Regions from separate parts of the Homo sapiens genome. Here region 1 is linked to region 2. The links are contacts of gene promoters, found by promoter capture Hi-C in blood cells and fetal thymus (Javierre and others, 2016). All regions are on one chromosome and are shown on one strand. Each heading gives the region's core, a stretch centred on a gene start or on the middle of the fragment in contact. The rest is flanking DNA. Distances are from core to core; before and after follow the strand shown.

Region 1 (3,797 bases), core at 1,229-3,728, 790 kb before region 2:
TTAATATGACGTCTGTGGCCCCAGGAAAGTTGGGCTGAGCTGAGGTTTCCCAGGCTTGTCTTTGAGGCCTCCGAGTCCTGGCCTGCGTTTATCACGGAACGACCCTATTGTGGTGGGATGGACCTCTTGGGGGCTGGTCATGGGTTCTGTGAGGGGATTTTAGAAGCTGGGAGGAGAGTCAGTATGTTGGCAGAGAGTTTTCCTGCATCTCTCTCTTTTCCTTCTTTTTTTTTTTTTAATTAGTTATTTATTTATGAGATAGAGTCTTGCTCTGTTCCCCAGGCTGGAGTGCAGTGGCACGATCTCAGCTCACTACAACCTCCGCCTCTGGGCTCCAGCAATTCTCCTTCCTCAGCCTCCCGAGTAACTGGTATTCCAAGCGCCCGCCACCACGCCTGGATGATTTTCGTATTTTTAGTAGAGACGGGGTTTCACCATGTTGGCCAGGCTGGTCTCGAACTCCTGGCCTCAAGTGATTCGCCTGCCACGGCCTTCCAAAGTGTTGGGATTACAGGCGTGAGCCACCGCACCCGGCCCAGCTCTCACTTTTCAAAAATAGAAACTGCTTCCCGACCTCAGATGACTTCAATCTTTCCCTTCCCCCGACGCCTTCCTGCCTCCCTCTTCCCCCTCCTCTGTCTTCCTCCTAAGGGGGCATCCCAGAGACGCAACTGTGCTGTGGCCCAGCAGGGGGCGCTGATGTACCTGCCAAGAGTGGAGGTGTCTTAGCACAGGTGTGAGCGTTCAGCTGTGTGCGAGCGGGCTTCAGAGTGATATCCCAGAGCAGGTGTGTGTATGTGTGTACCCTCAAAGGCAGAAGAGAGCGGGGGTGCTGGACCGTCCTGTCCAAGGCTCTGTTTATAACCCTTGCGTTGTCCCAAAGGTTGTGTGGTCCATGGAATAGCTGGGACCCTGCCCGTGGAGGGGAGGGGCAAGGCGTTTGAAGACATCTGGTTTTCATCAAAGGCCCCACCCTCCTTGCTCCATGGCCCCCCTCGCCCCCACCCACCCCCAATCCCAGCCCAGAACGGTGGCAGTCATTCTGCCCAGCAGTGGGGCGCTGGGAGTTGGTGGCTGGGTGGGGCGACGAGGTGGCGTCTGCTGCAGGCTGGCTCTCTGACGAGGGGCACGGGGATTGGGGCTGATTCCCGCTTTCTCATGGATATGTCTCCTGGAGCCGGTTCCCAGGCACAGAAGGCCCTTTTCTTCAGGGCCAGGCATGCGTGTCTGTCTGCCTCAACCCACTGGCCCCTCAGGAACGGGCTGTGCAGCTGTCTGCGCTCTGTTCATGATTAACTTCGCTGTCTCCCGCCCCAGGCCTGATTCCCACCCAGGCCCCCTCAGCCTTTGGAGTTCCCCTGGACTGGAAGAGAGACCTGGGCTGGCAGCTGCCGGGCACTTTGTTCTCTGGGACTGTGAGCTTTGGAGGCTGGAACAGGCCATGGAGGTCCTGAGAGCTGGGACGCCGTGGGGCATAAGTTGGGTGAGGTGAGACCTGCAGGAAGACCCCTTCTCTGCCGTCAGAGACTTCTGCCGTCCTCATTTCCTGCGGTCTGCATGTATCCAGCTTTCTCAGCCCACCCCAAAGTGCCTCATGAATGTGGCCTTGGAGCAGAGTAATGTGAAAATTCTTCCCTGTCCGTTCTCTTTCGAACTGTGATTTCTTCAAGAACAGTGCCTTGGTTTGGCGCAGGTGTGTCACTAACACCTAACACTGCCTGCTTTTTTTTTTTTTTTTTTTGAGATGGAGTCTCGCTCTGTTGCCCAGGCTGGAGTGCAGTGGTGTGATCTCGGTTCACTGCAACCTCTGCCTCCCGGGTTCATGCCATTCCCCTGCCTCAGCCTCCCGAGTAGCTGGGATTACAGGCACCCGCCACCACGCCCGGCTAATTTTTTGTATTTTTAGTAGAGACGGGGTTTCACCATGTTAGCCAGGATGGTCTCGATCTCCTGACCTCATGATCCGCCCGCCTCGGCCTCCCAAAGTGCTGGGATTACAGGCGTGAGCCACTGCGCCTGGCCCGCCTGCTTTTTTAAGGAAGGTACTTCAAGCTTAGAGCCTTTGTCAGGCAACAGTATTGAGGCAGAACTTAATAAATTTATGTTTGTTTTCATGGTAGGAAGGGCAAGTGATAATGGATTTTCATTTAGGGTTGCAATAACGTTTTCTTTTAAAATTAAGTAAAGGCAGCCGGGCGCTGTGGCTCATGCCTGTAATCCCAGCACTTTGGGAGGCCAAGATGGGCGGATCACGAGGTCAGGAGATCGAGACCATCCTGGCTAACACGGTGAAACCCCGTCTCTACTAAAAATACAAAAAAAACTAGCCGGGCATGGTGGCGGGCGCCTGTAATCCCAGCTACTCGGGAGGCTGAGGCAGGGGAATGGCATGAACCCGGTTGGCGGAAGTTGCAGTGAGCCAAGATCTTGCCACTGCACTCCAGCCTGAGGGATGGAGCAAGACTCCACCTCAAAAAAAAAAAAAAAAAAAAATTAAGTAAAGGCCAGGCGCGATGGCTCACACCTGTAATCCCAGAACTTGGGAGGCCAAGGCAGGCGGATCACCTGAGGTCAGGAGTTCGAGATCAGCCTGGCCAACATGGCGAAACCCCGTCTCTACTAAAAATACAAAATTAGCCCGATGTGGTGGCGAATGCCGGTAGTCCCAGCTACTCAGGAGGCTGAGCCAGGAGAATCGCTTGAACCCAGGAGGTGGAGGTTGCAGTGAGCCAAGACCGTGCCATTGCACTCCAGCCTGGGCGACGAGCAAAACAACGTCTCAAGAAAAAAAAAAAAAAAAGTGAAAAAGTAAGTTGATGTAATTAAAGCAAAATTATAAACAGCAGAGCAGCATGACACTAAGACAAAGAATTATGAAGGAGGTGGCGTGTGGCCCAATTGTGGGAAGCTTTGGCTGGGCTAACTGCACACACTGGCTGGAAATGGTCTTCTTTTGAGGTTTGGAGTGTGTTAACCCTGTTTGTTTCGGGCAGGGATGGTCTTCCATTTTTCTTTCTTGCCCTGGTCTCTTGCATAAAGCTGGACATACTGTACATGTTTAATAAATGCTGGTGGAATGGGTAAGCCTAGCATTGATGGTTGTTCCAGTCTCTGCTATTGATGGGTTTTCTTGTGCTTTGGGGTCCCCTCTGTGGGGTGTGGGTGTGATGGGCTGTGGGGGCTGGAGTGGGAGTTAAGAGGGGAAATTGCTGTTTATGCACCAAAGGTGGCGAGCTTGTAGGGCAGGGGCAGAAGGATGGGACCTCTCACTGCCAGGAAAATTCTACCTCTTAGAGACTCAGGAGTCAGGGGCTGAGAGGTTACGATTTTTTGGGGGACAGCCTTGTGTTTGCAGTGACACTGGGCTTGTAGAAGGACTTAGAGGGCTGGGAACCCCAGAATAAGAGAATGAATAATGGAACCTGCATGGTGGATTTTGTGCCTTCATCATCCCAATTCCCTGTTGTAGTTGTTTGGAGAGGTGGGGTCTCACTATGTTGCCCAGGCTGGTCTAGAACTCCTGGTCTCAACTCAAGTGATCCACCTGCCTGCCTCGGCCTTCCAAAGTGCTGGGATTACAGGTGTGAGCCACCCTGTTACCCACTGTGCACTTGACCTGAACTAGCTCCCACACTCTCACCTGCTGGGAAGGAGGATCAGGCCTTCCGTTGAGGTGCAGCCTTCTGTGTGTGGGTAAAATACACCCAACGCTAGGATAGACCTAAGCCAGCGCCCTCATCACCTTCCCTGCCATCTAACTGAAGCGGTCCATCAGCTAACCTGTGGGTCCTCGGGTG
Region 2 (4,258 bases), core at 1,752-4,251:
GGGATTACAGGCAAGAGCCACCGCGCCCGGCCACAGATATGACTATAGATCACTGGTTCCTACTCGGGGTGGTCTTGTCACCTAGGGAACATTTGGCAACATGGAGACATTTTTGGTTGTCACATCTGGGGAAGAGGGGCAAGCGTGGCTGGCATCTAGTGGGCCAGAGATGTTGCTAAACATTCTACAACATGCAGGACACCCCTCACACAACAAAAACTATGCAGCCCAAAATGTCAGCAGCACCAAGGTTGAGAAACCCTGCTATATAGACTAACTCACAGCAGTGCTGTTTGTCCCAGAGCACGATTCATATGTGGTGTGGGGGGGTTAATGACTGGCCTCCGCTAAGCACTTCATTAAATAGGTGTGACACACTGGGTGAGCCTGTAAGCACAGAACAGCCTGCTGAAAGCTGGGGAGGGAGGGCAGAAAAGTTTTCAAGAAGTGGCCGTGCTGCCGCCCCTACTGGGAAGTGAGGAGCCCCTCTGCCCGGCCACCACCCCGTCTGGGTAGTGTACCCAACAGCTCATTGAGAATGGGCCATGATGACAATGGCGGTTTTGTGGAATAGAAAAGGGGGAAAGGTGGGGAAAAGATTGAGAAATCGGATGGTTGCTGTGTCTGTGTAGAAAGAAGTAGACATGGGAGACTTTTCATTTTGTTCCGTACTAAGAAAAATTCTTCTGCCTTGGGATCCTGTTGATCTGTGACCTTACCCCCAACCCTGTGCTCTCTCAAACATGTGCTGTGTCCACTCAGGGTTAAATGGATTAAGGGCGGTGCAAGATGTGCTTTGTTAAACAGATGCTTGAAGGCAGCATGCCCGTTAAGAGTCATCACCACTCCCTAATCTCAAGTACCCAGGGACACAAACACTGCGGAAGGCCGCAGGGTCCTCTGCCTAGGAAAACCAGAGACCTTTGTTCACTTGTTTATCTGCTGTCCTTCCCTCCACTATTGTCCTATGACCCTGCCAAATCCCCCTCTGCGAGAAACACCCAAGAGTGATCAATTAAAAAAAAAAAAAAAGTGGCCATGCTGGGTGCGGTGGCTCACACCTGTAATCCCAGCACTTTGGGAAACCGAGGCAGGCAGATCAGTTGAGGTCAGGAGTTTGAGACCAGCCTTGCCAACATGGTGAAACCCCATCTCTACCAAAAATACAAAAAAATTCTCCAAGCATGGTGGCGCACACCTGTAATCCCAGCTACTCGGGAAACTGAGGCACGAAAATCACTTGAACCCGGGAGGCAGAGGTTTCAGTGAGCAGAGATTGCACCACTGCACTCCAGCCTGGGTGACAGAGCGAGACCCTGTCTCAAAAAAAAAAAAAAAAAAAAAAGAAGTGCTCTATTTCAGGAGAAACTGGCACTTTCTGAGCCTACTCTCCCCTAATGCCAGCTCTCCTGCTCACCCCACCAGGGTCAGAGCCAACTTTGCCTCCAATTCATAGTCCTTTAAGTAAGAATCCTTTTAATATGCCCTAATGTCCCAACCAAACTAATCTTGAAAGCTTCTATGTAGATACAAAGTGCTCCTGAAATCCCTATCCTCAGAAATGCTTCTGAGCCAAATGGGCTCTGAACCCTAAACAACCGTGTCCATGTATGTGGCAAGAGCTTGTGAAAAACAAAGCTGGGCCAGGCGCAGTGACTCACAACTGTAATCCTAGCACTTTGGGAGGCTGAAGTGGGCAGATCACTTGAGGTCAGGAGTTCAAGACCAGTCTGGCGAACATGGCGAAACCCTGTCTCTACTAAAAATACAAAAAGTAGCCGGGCGCGGTGGCTCACACCTGTAGTCCCAGCTACTCGGGAGGCTGAAGCAGGAGAATCACTTGAATCCAGTTGGCGGAGGTTGCAGTGAGCCCAGATCACGCCACTGTACTCCAGCCTGGGCAACAGAGCGAGACTTGGTAAGAAAGAGAAAGAAAGGAAAGAATGAAGGAAGGAAGGAAGGAAGGAAGGAAGGAAGGAAGGAAGGAAGGAAGGAAGGGAAGGAAGGGAAGGAGTCTCGCTCTGTCACCCAGGCTGGAGTGCAACGGAGCGATCTCGACTCACTGCAAGCTCCGCCTCCCGGGTTCGCGCCATTCTCCTGCCTCAGCCTCCCGAGTAGCTGGGACTACAGGCGCCCGCCACCACGCCCCGCTAATTTTTTGTATTTTTAGTACAGACGGGGTTTCACCGTGTTAGCCAGGATGGTCTCGATCTCCTGACCTCGTGATCCGCCCGCCTCGGCCTCCCAAAGCGCTGGGATTACAGGCGTGAGCCACCGCGCCCGGCTGACCAAAGGTTTCTTGGTCCGCATTCTGCTTCTGTGGAATGAGCCAGGAGCCAGTTAGGCCTGATTTGACATCTGATTTCCGGAGGAAAACCCAGACTCTGCCCTGGGCAACAAACTGAATCCTGAACTTGAGGTCACAGGGCAGGTGTGAGGAGCGGAGAGCAGCAAGAGTGAAAGGGAGGCCTGTGGTCATTCCATACACACAAGAGATCAGTTCCTCCAAGGTCAGGGGACAGAGAGCACAGGGATCCAGCGCCAAGCGCAAGGCCCCCAGAAGAAGCCAGAGAGTCGGGGAGGGGGCGGGGGGGAATCGGTCCCAGCAGGTGGGAAGGATTCTGGGACCAGACCTAAGGGATCATGAGCACAGCTGCTGCAGGCAGACGGGCCCCTGGAGAAGCTGGGGACAAGCTGGAATAGAGACTTCATTGCGGGAAGGGCTGTCAGGGAGGCCTCCTGGGGTGGAAAAGGGTGGTCAGGAGGCTCCTGGAGGCGGCGCGGCCCCGGGGGTCCAACTCACCTGGGGCCCGGCCACCGCGCTCTCGACCGCCGCCTCTGCCCGCGCAGCACGGGCACAGCTCGCCAGCACTGCGAACCCGGATGGGTCGTCGGGCGCGGCCCTCAGCAGAGCTGCCTTCACAGATGTGGTGCCCAGGTCAATGCCGAGGGTGATCGGCCGCGCAGCCATTATCTCCCTGACCCGCGCAGCTCCAGTCTGCAGCCAGCGGCCCCACAAGTCCGCGCTCTTCGCCCAGGGGGGCGGGGCAGGGGCGGGGAGTCGCCTGCCAATCTTTCAGCCACACCCAACATGGAGGCTTCTCGTCTTCCCACTGGCCGGGGAAGGCGAGCTTCCACGCAACCTCTCGGCGGGCCCCGGCTATAGGCGGAGAGGCGGCGGAAGGCGGGACCTAAAGGGGGCCCCGCCCCACGGGCTCTGATTTCCGCCCAATGGAGGGCGGTCTGAGCTTCGCTCACGAAAGGAGCCGGGAGGCGCTGGCGGCTCCAAGAGTCTCTGTGTCCCTGGCAGCGGACCTCATCTTCCCTCACGCCGGAGCCCCGATCTCTGCGCCCCGGCCCGACCCAGCTGCGCTCTGTCCGTCTAAGACGCGCGGAAACTACAACTCCCAGAGCTCATCTCGCCGAGATCCGGCCCCACGAGTCAGGTGGCGGAGGTCAGGTGACAGCGGACCCGCCTCTCCCAAAGTCTAGCCGGGCAGGGGAACGCGGTGCATTCCTGACCGGCACCTGGCGAGGCTCATGCGTCCCGTGAGGGCGGTTCCTCGAGCCTGGGGGCGCTCAGGTGAGAGCGGACGCGGCCTCCCCTGTTTCCCAGGCGGACCCCTTGAGGCACAGCAGGTCAGCGGGGCAGCCTGCCGGGGGTCCAGCGCCCTCAGCCGCGGCGGGCTCCTTTCCCCGCCACCAGTGCTGGCCTCGCGACACGGGACAACCCCCGGGTGGAAGGGCCCGAGCGGTGGTCAGCCGAGGCAGGGGCAGCGGGCTGCCGGGGTGGGTGCCGTTCCCAGCCCCTTACCTTCTGCTCAGTTGCCGCCTGGGTCTCGGTTGGGGAATTTGCAGATTGCTTTGGAGACGCTGAGAGAACCTTTGCGAGAGCGCCGGTTGACGTGCGGAGTGCGGGGCTCCGGGGGACTGAGCAGCACGAGACCCCATCCTCCCCTCCGGGTTTTCACACTGGGCGAAGGGAGGACTCCTGAGCTCTGCCTCTTCCAGTAACATTGAGGATTACTGTGTTTTGTGAGAGCTCGCTAGGCGCCCTAAGCAACAGAGGTAACCACTTTATATCCTTGTTTCTCAACCTCGTTATTCCTACCTACCCCCTTCCCATAAAATTTAATACCACTAGTACGCTGTGTATTTGTTTCTGTGGCCACAAACCATTGTAATAGCTAGATTTCTTCACTACCACCCCAAGCCAATTTTTTTTTTTTTTTTGAGATGGAGTCTGCAGCCTCTGTCA

Evidence for each region. The method cuts DNA at HindIII sites, captures the fragments that hold promoters and counts their contacts. A CHiCAGO score of 5 or more calls a contact.
Region 1: a fragment that was not itself captured here is called in contact with the fragment with the promoter of SHPK in region 2 in 1 of 17 cell types (endothelial precursors); the score reaches 5.5 in endothelial precursors.

Annotation. Positions count from the first base shown.
Region 1 is chr17:2,848,278-2,852,074 of GRCh38, forward strand. The region is part of intron 2 of RAP1GAP2 (RAP1 GTPase activating protein 2); the gene reads left to right. Among named protein-coding and RNA genes, the nearest start is that of RAP1GAP2, 54 kb to the left of the region's middle. RefSeq lists enhancers at 1-57, 1,240-1,830. The HindIII fragment of the contact is 856 bases long and covers 2,051-2,906 here.
Region 2 is chr17:3,633,249-3,637,506 of GRCh38, forward strand. It overlaps SHPK (sedoheptulokinase), which reads right to left and starts at 3,002. Exons shown (of 7, transcript NM_013276.4): 1 at 2,804-3,002. The coding sequence starts at 2,971. It overlaps CTNS (cystinosin, lysosomal cystine transporter), which reads left to right and starts at 3,512. Exons shown (of 12, transcript NM_004937.3): 1 at 3,512-3,583; 2 at 3,859-4,068. RefSeq lists enhancers at 554-1,419, 3,258-3,507 and silencers at 2,718-2,777, 3,788-3,877. The HindIII fragment of the contact is 10,697 bases long and covers 1,515-4,258 here.